Linked DNA regions of Homo sapiens: regions 2, 3 and 4 are each linked to region 1. The links are contacts of gene promoters, found by promoter capture Hi-C in blood cells and fetal thymus (Javierre and others, 2016). All regions are on one chromosome and are shown on one strand. The core of a region is centred on a gene start or on the middle of the fragment in contact, and the rest is flanking DNA. Distances in the headings are between cores, read along the strand shown.

Region 1 (3,295 bases), core at 437-2,936:
GGCTCTGTGTCCTCTGTCTAAATTCTCAGTCAACTTTCTCTCCCTAAGTAATCTCATTCAGTCACATGGGTTCATTTCTTATCAGTAAACTGAGTCCTAAATTTATACTTATAGTGTAGTTCTCTTCTGCCCCATAGAGATCCACTTGAATTTTACATAGGCACTTATACATCATTCTCTACGGCTTATTTCAATAACTGGCATCAACAACCACAGAGCTGCTCAAAACTGAACCTCTGAAATTATTCTTAACTTCTCTCTCCTCACTCCTGGAGAGCCAACCACCAAGTCCTGTTGGTGCCACCTTCTAAACATCTCTGGAATCTTTTTTTCTCATCATTACATTCTCTACACTAGTTCAAGCTACCATTATCTGTCACACAGATTATGGACTATTGCAATGGCCCCTTGATAGGTCTTTCCCCTCTCACGCTTATCCCTTCTAATCAATTATTCACAAAGCAATCATTTAAAAACACAACCTTCCCAAGCTCTCAACATAAAACCCATGATGTTTAAGCGGTTATTGGCCCAGCAGATCTGATCCCCACCTTGCTCTCCCTTTTACTTTCCAGCCACACTAGACCTCATACAGCTCCCTCGGGTTTTCAATAGCTTCAGACCTTCACGTGTTATTACCTCCGCCCTGTACACCTGCATCCTCCGTTTTCACCTGGTTAATGTCCGCTCCTCCTTCAGAGCTAGTGTAACTTCCGGTGGAGCCTTCTCCTATGATTTCTAGTCCCAATTATTAATACTTGCTTGATCATTTGATTAATGCTTTAAGCTACGTATGAGATTGGAGAGGGTTCAGAGTGTACATTTTATCCCAATCCCCCCACCCTCCCCCGCAAAGCCTGTCCTATGGAAGTCCTTCGGGTAAAAAAAACAACGAAGAAAACAAAACAAAAGACAAATGAAAATTCGACTGGGGTAGTGGGAAAGATTATCTGTAGCTACACGACCATTGAAAACACATTTTAAAGATGCAATTTGGGACCAGGGACGGGGGATAGTGGCGTGTTGGAAAGGTCTTTGTGGCGACGAACTTTCAACCGAGGGCCAGGATCTGAGGGTTCAGAAATACACTGCCAGGACTATTATCACCTTTAAGTCATTTACTAGTTTTTAACTTCTGCTTGTCTGCGACAGCGTAACACAGGAAGCAGCTGCAGTCTTCTCAAACCGCAGCCGCTGACCTTAGCGGCAAGAGGCCCGACCTGCCCTCCAGGCGCCCGGCGCTCGGCTCCCAGAGGCGCCGCGCAGCTCCCTCAGCGGCAGTCACAGCTGGCCAGCGCGCACCCGGCACGCGCGCCCCCAGGGCCTCTGCGCGCGGACCCGGCTCTCAGGCGCCGCGGGAGAGGCCCCCTACTCACGGAGCGCGCGGCCCGTGCGCCCACGCTCCGACCGCATTCCTCAGTACGTGGCACCCTTGGAAAGTGCCTGTCTGGTCAATCGAAGAGTCCTCGTTTCGACCAAAAAAATTCCCCTCAGAAATATGCATGGCACGGCAATGAAGGCATTTCACTATGAAGTGGAATGATGATGGTCCGACCAGGTCAGGACGAACATATGAGGGGTTAGATCTAAGCAGGCACTATTAAAGACAGTCGCATCCGGGCCCTCCTGCCGCAAGCTGCCCTCCCAGCCAAGGGTCCTTCAGGTAGGAGGTCCTGGGTGACTTTGGAAGTCCGTAGTGTCTCATTGCAGATAATTTTTAGCTTAGGGCCTGGTGGCTAGGTCGGTTCTCTCCTTTCCAGTCGGAGACCTCTGCCGCAAACATGCTCCGCCAGATCATCGGTCAGGCCAAGAAGCATCCGAGCGTAAGTTCGTGACCGCTCTCCTAATGTTTTCCCTTGTCCTTCTTGCGTCGGGGTGCGCCTCTTTCTGTTCCCTGGGAACGTCCTCATTTACAGCCACTTACCGTCCGTCAGACCAGACCCTGCCTCGCCTAGTGTTTGTCATCTTAGTTGTCCCAGGCCTCTGTGACCCTCTACGCCATGCATTGTGGGGTTTTGTCTGACAGGAGGAAGGAGACGGACACTGCTCGGAAAAAAAACCTAGTTTTTTCTAGTTAGTGAATATTGGAACAGTCTGGTGGCCGCTCTCTTTTGCAGGTTGTGCGGTCCAGGAGGGATAGATGTGCGCTGTGTGGGTCAGAGACTAGCATAGGTCAGGTTCCCTATGTGTTATACCATCTCTGGAGGTTCTTGTATTCGCCGCATTGCACCACCAGGCCTTTTGGTAAATAAGAGGGGTCCGTGATCTTGGAATCCTCACTTTGTCTGGACGTCGTTGCTTTTGGGAAAATTTCGAAGTGTGGAAATTGCAGTTAAGTTCTTTGGCATCTCATTTTTCCTCAGCACATCAATGTGCTGTAGAGCTAAAAGTCTATGCAATCTTTAATCTGTCTTAAATCCGGTTCCCTAAATACGCAGCAAGCATTGGTAGCATTACGTTTTCAGAGATAATGCTTAAAGCCAGTATTTGTAATAGATACGTTTACTTATTCAGATTCTATTTTTCATACATCTTTATAGAGGCACCCTTAAATAATTTGCAAAGAATTTGTTTTTCAAGCCCCAGGATAAAGGAAGCCAGAAAATTTAATGGGAATGACATGTAAATATTAGAGAGGTGAAGAAGACTCGATACATTTTCTTGGAAATTTAAAAATGTACCTATAATTTGCTCCACATTAAAAAGTAAGACACTTAAACCAGAGTCATCTTAACATCCTTTCCAAATTCCATTTCTTTCTTTAGAACACAGTTATAAGAAATCTTACCTCAATGTAAGATCTACTTTATTTAAATTTTAAGACAAAACAGTCCAATAACAGTTTGAGACTTGGAAATCAATGTGCAGAAACTACTGTAATCTCTCGTTGGCCAGTGTTTTAAGTATTTGAAGATGGTTATTCTATTTTGTGTTTGGTTTAGTTGATCCCCCTCTTTGTATTTATTGGAACTGGAGCTACTGGAGCAACACTGTATCTCTTGCGTCTGGCATTGTTCAATCCAGATGTTTGGTAAGTACTTAAAAATGTTTAAAACTTTGATAGCTGATCAAGGCAGTTTAGGAGCCACAGTCTCTGTAGGGCGATAACATTAGGGTAGTAGAAAGAATGTTACATTTACAGTCATACAATAAGTTCAGATCTCAAATCTGCTGTTTTCATTTACTTTTTTTGGTTCATGAAATTATCTAATTTCTCTGAGTCTCGTTTTCTCTTTGGTAAAGTAGAACTGCTAATACCAAATCTTGTAATGTTTTGAGGATTGACATAAAAATA
Region 2 (3,295 bases), core at 417-2,916, 1.8 Mb before region 1:
TGTAAAAAGTTTTATGTTTTTATATTGTCCAAAAAGTAGAAGTGGTAAATGTACTAATTTACATTAAGCTTTACTCAGCTAAGGATGTATGCTGCAGGCCAGGTGCGGTGGCTCATGCCTGTAATCCCAGCTCTTTGGGAGGCTGAGGCAGGTGGATCACGAGGTCAGGAGACCAGCCTGGCCAACATAGTGAAACCTCATCTCTACTAAAAATACAGAATTAGCCAGGCGTGGTGGTGGGCGCCTGTAATCCCTGCTACTTGGGAGGCTGAGGCAGGAGAATCGCTCGAACCCGGGAGGCAGACGTTGCAGCGAGCCGAGATCACGCCACTGCACTCCAGCCCGGGGTGACAGTGCGAGACTCCAAAAAAAAAAAAAAAAAAGATGTATGCTGCAACTATGGAATAACAAAAAGAATAGTAAAAGAATGTATAACCAGGGGGGAGGGGTGAGGGGGTGAGAAGAAAAAAGACTTAATCTAAAAGAAAGAAAGGACATAAAAATAAACAGTCAAATGGAAAAATGTGGTAGATTTAAACAAAATATCAGTAATTTGTAATTAAATATATAAAGACCAAGTAAAAGCAAACTATCATTAAAAATACAATTGTCAGACAGGTAAATGCTCTATTCTGATTTTGCAACTTCATATCCTGCCATTCTGTCGATTGCTCACCAGTTCTAAGCATACTTAGTCTACTCGGTTCAGTGATTTTCCATCTCAGGGCCCTTGCAAATAAAGTTCCCTCTGCCTGAGATGCTCTTTCTTCTACTCTTCTCATAGCTCTTTAGATAAATCAGAAAAATCTCCAACCACTTTATCCAGTGAAAGTCACCCCTATTGTTTTCTCATCCTTAGCCCTCTGTTTCCTTCATAGCACTTTTCACATTTTTTATTTTACTAACTGCAACCTCTACCTCCTGGGTTCATGCCATTCTCCTGCCTCAGCCTCCTGAGTAGCTGGGACCACAGGCGCGTGCCACCATGCCCGGCTAATTTTTTGTGTGTATATTTTTAGTAGAGATGTGGTTTCACCGTGTTAGCCAGGATGGTCTTGATCTCCTGACCTCGTGATCCACCCACCTCGGCCTCCCAAAGTGTTGGGATTACAGGCGTGAGCCACCACGCCCGGCCTATTTTATTAACTTTTGTCTGATATCCCTTTAGAATTAAGCTTCATTTATTTGTTAACTATGCACATATGTGAGTGTTTAGTATGTGCTGTGTGGTTTATAAGAGCTAGGGATATGGCAATGGATAAATGCCCCGTCCCTGTGGAGCTTACTTTCTAGAGTAGGAAAGAGACAAACTACCCTTCTGTTTTGGTGATTGCTATATTCTAAACACCTGGCAGCATGAGGCAGTTGTTCATATACCTGAGTGAATGTTTGGTCTACTTGCTAGAAATCATGCCAGATGACTCATAAAGCTTCCTTCATAAATAACCTTGTAAGAGAGATAATGTTGCCATTTAAAGGTGAGAAGGCTGTAGCTAAGAGAAATTAAGTAACTTGCATTCAGTTACACAGCTAATACATGTCAATACTCTACCTGTATAATTTAACATAAACACCCAGTTTCTAACATGAGAGCTGCTGACAGATTGATCAAGCAAGAAAGACCATCTTTCTTTATAGAATAGACTGAACGTGTTTTACTTATTTGATGAATCAAATGCATCTTGGGTTTAGCCTATTGGTTATAAGCCATTTGGATCTGCCCGTTTTCTTCAAGTATTCCTACTGTGATAGGTCTTTGATTTTTCCTTACCATATCTGCTAGTCCTCAAAATAATTGGCTATCATCATTGAAACCCGTGACATTCAAAGTTCTCAAAAGGGTTACAGAAAAAACAACACTGTAGGCACTACTTATTAATAGTACTTCATCTCTAAAGCTTTAACTGGTCTCTTGTGAGATGGGCAGGACTATTTGTAAATTTCTAAGATATCACCTATTAAGCATACAATATATATAAAATTAGTAAAAGGAAAAGTGTCTATTCCATATTGCCTTTCCCTGGGGTTGCTCAGATTTCTCCTAAGCCATCTGATCTGAGACATCCCTGGATCAGACAGCATTCTGTTTGGTTATTATGACATAAATGTCAAGCCAATGAAAAACATTCCACTATGTAGAAGAAAAGGGTCTAAGACAGGTAAAGTTTCACTAGGCCAGTTCTATTTATGATCCCTTTATTCCTGCCACTAAAAGTATTATCCCTCTGGCATCCCCAGCCCACAATTTTTAAGTTCCAAAACAATGGTTTCTAAATCTGGCTGATCTAGGTGTGTTTAAAAAACATCCTACAAAGAGGTGGAATATAAATTACTGGACCCATTTCCTAAAGATTCCATTCAAAATGTCTGAAGTGAAGTGTAGGAATCTCAAGAGCTCCTTAAGTCATTCTGAAGTATAGCCAGTTTAGAAAAATGTCATTCTAGGGAACTCCATTTTGTCACTCACCCATTTCTGGGTATCTTCAGGTAGATGACAGATTAAGGGAAACAAGCACTTTTCATCTGAATACTTAAGAAATACAACAGCCCACTGGATGCCCACAATTTCTAATCCCCTGCTGTTTAGTTATTCAGTTTCTGCACTAAAAAGGAACAAAGAAAAAACCCCATAAAACAAATATTCAGATTCTCGTTGACATTACAAAGAGCTGCAACAGGAAGAGTTCTTTTTCAATCAGAGGGCTGTTATATATCAGATGTCTTCCATGTAAATTACTTAAATTTTCACAAAACAATTCTACTGCTTGAACTGAGAAGAAAAATATTGCCTAGAAAAAATTCCTCATGATTGTGGAAAATATTCATGTACATCAATTTTAAAAGAGAGGTTCCTAAAGTATTGTGTGTAAAATTTTTTGTCCCAAATTCAGTATTTTTAAATATACTTGAAGAACTGTATATATTAAATAAACCAGACTCAACATGTCTACAAAGCAAGTAAGAGATTTTGTGAAACAAATATATCTAAAACATAATCCCACATAAAATAACAATTCCAAGTGACCTTAAAATACAAGAATTTACCTCCAGTGAGATATACCTAAAGGACAAAGGTAACTACAACATTCTTAAACCACTACCAGTCATCAAATTATTGACAGTAGTATTGCATTGAGATTAAAGTGGAATAAAGCAAATAAACAACTGTGTGTTGCTCATAACTAATATTTTTGGCATGAGTGAAAAGAGATAATAATATCACTGAAACTAAATAAATGCCTTATCATTCTGAATGTAAATCTTTGAATTGGAACTATCACTGTGAATTAATAAT
Region 3 (3,295 bases), core at 496-2,995, 1.3 Mb before region 1:
ATGTCTTCCCACCTCCCAACATCCCCTGTCCTGTCTCAGGAAGTGAAATCTGCTCAAACCTTGGTACAGAATTGTCACACCCAGAATTACTCTCCTCATGAAGAGATGACTGATTATTTTTTCTCTCCTCTCACCCTTACAAACTCCCTTTGTCTTGAGGAAAATGATGTCAGCTAGGTAGAAGAAAAAAGGCAAGGGTGAGAAGAGCAGTCTCCTCAGTAGAATTCTTTCAGGGGATTTTCCATTTTAAAGGTTGATATTTTCTGACAAAAATGACTCTTTCATTGATGGAGATCCAGGTATTACACCAAAGTTTGTTGAAGAGATTGCTTGTGTCATTGTATCCTATGCTTAGCTACCTCAGTTGAAATTCAGGACAGTATAACAATTACAGTTGTGTGTTTTGGAAAATATGACAAACATATATAGGGTTGCGAGGATTTATTGTTAAACTAGGACATTAAAGTACTATCATAGCACAGAGATGCTATGGAGGAGAGGATAGAAAGGCAAGATGAAAGATATATAAAAATGTATGAAATTTTTATGAAGTTATAACTTAAACAGTGAAAGAATCATTAAAATTTCTTCAGTGTAAAAAATGCATCTAAAAACTTAGATGTCTCTTCCATAGGAAAAAAAAATAGCAAGTGTTTTTTCAAACTCTTTATAGACATTTATATCTTAAGTGTCTATTCCAGATTCTCATTTGCCTTCTTTACAATCGAGGAATGACTTTTTAGAGGTACAATTAATGACCCCATTCTCTTTCACTAATATAAGAGTATAATTATTTCATTGGAAAGCACTACTATATATTATATTTCTTTCATATCTTTGTTCATGTATTAGTCTCATACAGTGCCTGCCTTATAAGATATTGTAAGAAATTATCAAGATAAATTTAATGCAGAAATAACAATGGTATATAATGTCCCTACTTATTCATTTATGCTTACATAACATTGGAGGTGCTCAAAAGGTTCCACGAGTATTGAGTCATTAAAGCTTAGTACCCCTGTGAGGTATGCTTGGTTATTATCATTATAGTTTATTAGACAGATCAAGCTTCCCCTGGAGTCCTGAAAGCTCTTACAGAAAGTGTTGGCTTTTTAATATTCTGCATCTGAGAATTACAACTCAGGTTTATGAAATTAACTCATTTTTCTTAGGATTGTCTCTTTCTTTTGAGTTATATGGTTTCACCTTCTTGTAGCATAGCAGAAACAGTGCACACCCAGCTTTTAGAAAACCTGTAGTTGAAAGGCTATTTCATCTCCTTCCAGAGATACAAAGAAGAGGCAAAATATTTGAGGGATTATAAGTAACCAGTGGGTGACATGAAAATTATTGATATATTTGCTAATATTTATTGAAAAATATACAATGTGCCAAGATTGTGCTAAATCCATTCCAGAGACCAGAGGCTTTGAAAGTCTGCATATTTTGCAAGTGCACAGCTCCATAAGTGGAAGAGCTAGTCCGGAACTCTAGCCTTTTGACTTCTAGCCCGATGCCATAGCCTCCATCCCTGAATTTCCCCAAATTTGATATGCTTGCTACCAGTGAGATAGAACTTGATTTTTCTCTGTACACAAGTATACTTTACTAGTTATATATTTCACTGCATTTTAAAATAATATTATTTCCCCACTAAACTGTGGTATGATAGATATCATTCCCTAGGAGAAAGCTAAATCAGGTAGAATTTGGGTTTAGGAAGTAAGTAGAAATGACAAAAATCACAAAGGTGGAACATTAAACTTTAAAGTCTGGAAGACCTACTATGTATCATATCACAGACTGAAGTGTATGAGGTAGTATGAAGTGAGTGTGGTTTGAATAACAAGAAGAAAGAAATAGGCTTTTAGCTCTAGCTCTAGTTTCTGTTTATTTTTGAGGAGATGAAACTGTTGAAAAATGTTTTCTTGCTTTTGCTTCTGGATATGTAAAAACTATTAAGGAAAAAAAACTTTAAAATAAGCAGCTTATCCATCATGGGGCCTTTAGATTCAAACTGATTGGTTCTGAAACCATAGTACATCCACTTACTAGTTGTGTGACCTTAGGAAAGTTAATTAACCTCTCTGAACTTCAGATTCTTTATTTATGAATGGTGATGAATGGTGTGAATGGTGATGTTATTTGTGAATGAACAGACACAATGTCTACAGAGTGCTTAACTTGTATTAGAAGGCATTCAGCAAAAGGTATCTACTGTTGTCATTTCTAGCACATTATTACCTCTTCTCTTTGAAACTTGCATCTTTGAAAGTATCATCAGTTACATCAGTCACTATAACTGTTAGCCCCTGACTCACTGTCATTCTCTTCTTTATTTCAGGTTTTGATGAGAACATGAATAGTCCTTTTAAATGTGGGCGCCTCTGTTTCTTGAACTCCCCTCTTCCCCAAAGCTTGTCTTCCACCCTAATTCAACCACTCAGTCTCATGGTCACATCCTAGACCTTGACATTGTCAGTACCTGGTATCCTCCCCAACTATAATCTCATTATCTAGTCTCCTCATCACAAAAATTTCAACATCACCTTTTTCACGAATCTGTTTTTACTGACCCTTACCTTCTTGTTGTTCCGTCTCCTTCGTTACTAGTCTGCTCAAGCTGCCATAACGAAGTGTGGTGGCTTAAATAACAGAAATGTATTTTCTCATGGTCCCAGTGGCTGGGAAGTCCAAGATCAAGAGTGCCAGCCAATTCAGGTTTTGGTGACAGCTGTCTCTTGGATTGCAGGCAGCTGCCTTCTTGCTGTGTCCTCATGTGATCTTTCCTCAGTGCAAAGATCTTTTCTGGGTGCACTGATATTTTTTTTTTTTTTTTTTGTTTTTTTTTTTTTTTTGGGTAAAGAGAGGAGAGGTCTCTCTCATACTCTATTTATAAGGCCACTAATCTCATCATGAGGGACCCACTTACATGACCCCATCTAGCTCTAATTATCTCCCTTAGGCCTTACCTCTAAATTCCATTGCACTGGGGGTTAGAGCTTCAACAAATGAGTTGCGGCAGGATATATTCACTCTGTAACACTTCTCCCTCCTAACCCAGCTTAAATTTACCAATTATAACCTCTCCAGTGCACACACCCTTGACTCATATCTCTCTTCCTTCATCATTTTCACTTTCACTTCCAGCCACATTTGGCCTCATTTAAGCCCAGAGTAGTTGGAACAAAACACACAAATATTCTGATTAGTTTCACTTTCAGTTAACAGCAATGAACTCCAGTAGATGTTTAATGCTGTTACGCACTCAGTACTTTCCTGATTCACTCAACTT
Region 4 (3,295 bases), core at 370-2,869, 1.3 Mb before region 1:
GCAGAGCTTCTGACATTGTCCCCCTTGAAAACCAAAACCGGCCTCTGAAGTAGAAGTCTCAAGCTTTAAGAGCCCCCTACATAATGAGCCTTCCAGGGCCCTTTCAGGTCTCACCCCAATCCATGTTAAAGTCACTTCAAAATCCGTGATTTCTTTCTTGGGTTGAGCTATATCCATAAGTTTAAAGGATAAATGGACCTTTAAATGCCAATTTTATAATCTTATTAGAAGTTGGCTTATCATATTAACTATTAAGGTATCAGATAGTCAAGTTCTCTTTAAAAGCTTTCTAAAATGCTTCTGTTATTTCCCCCGACACATCTATACTCTTCCTCTCATCTGTGCTCCCCCATCACACCCATATATAATTATACAAATACATATAACATGGATATCTGTATCTTTGTGTGTTTACATATCTCACCTTGTTTAGTGGTATTCATCTGGCTAAAACTACAACCCTGGTTAAAACCAACCCTCTGGCTCCTATGCATATATCAACAGAGCTAAACATGGACACAGAAAAACACACAACTACACTCACTGGTTTCATTTTTGATCACTCATGTCAAGTAGCACTTAATGATGTCAACAATCATACTACATTTCCCAAGTTCATACTCTCAAGCTGACTCTCCAAGACCACAATTTTATAACTTCAACTCTCTTCAAATCTTTAATATCTTCTTCGCTATCCTCATTCTTAGTTCATTATGTGATAAATGGAAGATAATTTCTACAAGCTTCTATTATCAGATCTATCCACCTACCTGCTTCTGTGTCCATACTTTACCTTCTCTTTTATTACCAAGAATAAACCACCTGTGCTTATAACTTACCTTTTATAGAAAAAAAGAGCAGCTCTTTGTTCTTGTGCAGTAGATCTGCCCTTCTGTCTATTCAAGAACATTGCTCCAATAATTCTCTTATCTCCCGAATTACCAATGTTTTCTCTACAGATAATTCTCATCAGTATACAACTGTCTATTATTCACTCTATCTTACAAAGAAAAAAAAAAATCCCTCTCCTGACCTCACAGCCCCTTCTAATGACTACCTCTCTTCTCTCTGCTATGGAGCCAAACCCCTCAGAAAATCTATTTTCTCTCTATGTAACATCTCCTATGCACTCTTGAGCCCACTCTATACATGCTACACGTCTTTACCAAAACCGCTCTTTTAAACTCTTCTGTGGCCTCCATATAACCAAATCCAATGGCCAGTTCTCAGTCTTCACACTACCCAATCTATCAGTAGCATATGACAGTTGGTCACTCTTTCCTCCTTGGTACACTTTCTTCACTTATCTTCCATGATACCACACACAATGATTTCCTCCTCTCATTCTAACTTTTCTTTCTCAGGGTCCTTTGTTAATTCTTTCACTGACCTTGATATGCTACAGTGTCTCAGGATTCGCTAGGGTCTCATTTTTGCCATCTGCACTGACTAGCTTGCTGCTGTCATCCAGCTGAGCTTTAAGTGTCATCTATACATTGGTAACTTGAGGCTGGGCGCTGCAATTGAATTCCTGACCCTTATGATAACTAACTGCCTAATGAACATATCCACTTCCACGTCAAATAGGCATCTCCAAATATCCATGTCTAAACTTGAGCTCCTGAACTCTCCTGTGACATATACACTCAAATAATCTTTTTTTTTTCAATTTTAATAAATTGCTACTACATTCTTTCAGTTGCTCAAACAAACCCCCCCAAAAAAACTCTGGAGTCATCCTTGATTTCCTACTTTCCATAATCTGTATCCAGGCGGCCAAAAAAGTTTACTGGTCATACCTCAAAAATGTAACCAGACTGCTAAAACAGTACTCCCCTACCCCCTGAGCCTGGTGCATTAATCCCTTCAACTACAATAATTATTTTATTCTTAAATAGCTACTATCCTTGTGAAAATAAAACCATCATACTCAAAGGCCAACGCAAATGTAAACTTCAATTCAAACCCACAGCATTTTAAGATACATTTTAAGCATCTTAAAAAGGTACACAAAGTATACTTTATACTTTGACCTTCTTCCCTCTGGGTATCTCCAGGGTCACACATCAACTTTCACCAAGAAGATAATGAGAACAGCATAAAGTATCTTTATTATTTCTACTTATTGCCACTGTTCCTAAAGTAGCTTACAAGCAGCACACAGGGGATTATTTCCTTCTGACGTCCCCTATGATATATCACAAACAATTTTTTTTTTTCAATTTGGCTCATTTTCACGTACCATCCCTCTTCACAGAGTTTCTTTAACTCATTAGGGCACAGCCAGCTTATTCTTCTTCTTTAGATAATGAATTAAAAATATTAGGTTGGCCAGGCGTGGTGGCTCACAGCTGTAATTCTAACACTTTGGGAGGCCAAGGCTGGATGATCGCTTGAGCCCAAGAATTCGACATCATCCTGGGAAACATGGGGAAACTCCATCCTTATTATTAAAAAAATAAAATTTTAAAAATAACATGAAAGAATAAGCTTCCTTACACATTAACTCTGGCTGGGCATGGTGGCTTACTGCTATAATCCTAGCACTCTGGGAAGCCGAGGTGGGAGGATTGCTTGAGGACAGGAGTTCAAGACCAGCCTGGCCAACAATTGCGAGATCTCATCTCTTAAAAAAAAAAAAAAAATAGGTCAACAAATTACTTAAATTGCTTCTAACATCTGATATAGCAAAGTAGCAAGTAACTATGATGTCATCTCTACAGATGCCAAATAGGACTAAAAGTTTTCATTTACAAGACAGTGAATATCTGCTATAATAGCAGGTGGGAATGAAAAAATACTGGAGGTAGTGAGGTGGTTTTCTTTACTGCTTTAGGAACCTTAATTAATACTTTATTTGTTTCTTTTGCATCTTTTTGACTGAAGGTAACTGATATGATGTTTCAACTTTAATTCTAAGAGTCCTCTAAAACAGGTGGTTCCTGAGACCCACAGTTTTTATAATACTTGAGCAAATACCTAAAATCATTTAAAGGGAAAACAATACAATAACACATACCCCTAGGAATTCTTCCTGTTCCCTGACAAGTAGGGCAGGTGACACTATCTCTTCCTGTAAATTCCACATATGGAAACTGAGAGACATCTCCATTTCTTCCATCTTCATTATGGACTTCACTATTAACCAGTCCATTCCTCATGTTTTCAGATGTGACTCCATCATAAGCATCTTCTTTGCTTGAATGCAAAGGCAAATGAGAAAGAGACTTTCCCATGTCTAAAGAAAAATAAAAATCTTACAGTAAACTTCAGGGAAAAAAGTACATTCAAGAAC

The links. Contacts are between HindIII fragments. The CHiCAGO score rates a contact against its expected background, and 5 or more counts as called.
Region 2: a contact is called between a fragment that was not itself captured here and the fragment with the promoter of COXFA4 in region 1, in 1 of 17 cell types (non-activated CD4 T cells). The highest score is 5.5, in non-activated CD4 T cells.
Region 3: a contact is called between a fragment that was not itself captured here and the fragment with the promoter of COXFA4 in region 1, in 6 of 17 cell types (non-activated CD4 T cells, total CD8 T cells, naive B cells and 3 more). The highest score is 12.2, in non-activated CD4 T cells.
Region 4: a contact is called between a fragment that was not itself captured here and the fragment with the promoter of COXFA4 in region 1, in 7 of 17 cell types (total B cells, non-activated CD4 T cells, monocytes and 4 more). The highest score is 13.8, in total B cells.

The regions. Positions count from the first base shown.
Region 1 is chr7:10,938,544-10,941,838 of GRCh38, reverse strand. It overlaps COXFA4 (cytochrome c oxidase associated subunit FA4), which reads left to right and starts at 1,686. Exons shown (of 4, transcript NM_002489.4): 1 at 1,686-1,823; 2 at 2,943-3,031. The coding sequence starts at 1,782. LOC107986767 (a long non-coding RNA gene) reads right to left here and starts at 1,583. Exons shown (of 3, transcript XR_001745091.3): 1 at 1,108-1,583. RefSeq lists a silencer at 1,154-1,403 and enhancers at 629-1,549, 1,434-1,703. The HindIII fragment of the contact is 7,174 bases long and covers 1-3,295 here.
Region 2 is chr7:12,694,307-12,697,601 of GRCh38, reverse strand. No RefSeq gene overlaps it. Among named protein-coding and RNA genes, the nearest start is that of ARL4A, 8.3 kb to the right of the region's middle. The HindIII fragment of the contact is 468 bases long and covers 1,433-1,900 here.
Region 3 is chr7:12,257,695-12,260,989 of GRCh38, reverse strand. No RefSeq gene overlaps it. Among named protein-coding and RNA genes, the nearest start is that of TMEM106B, 48 kb to the right of the region's middle. The HindIII fragment of the contact is 1,349 bases long and covers 1,071-2,419 here.
Region 4 is chr7:12,214,752-12,218,046 of GRCh38, reverse strand. It overlaps TMEM106B (transmembrane protein 106B), which reads right to left. Exons shown (of 8, transcript NM_001134232.2): 2 at 3,020-3,238. The coding sequence starts at 3,236. Among named protein-coding and RNA genes, the nearest start is that of TMEM106B, 5.1 kb to the right of the region's middle. The HindIII fragment of the contact is 1,747 bases long and covers 746-2,492 here.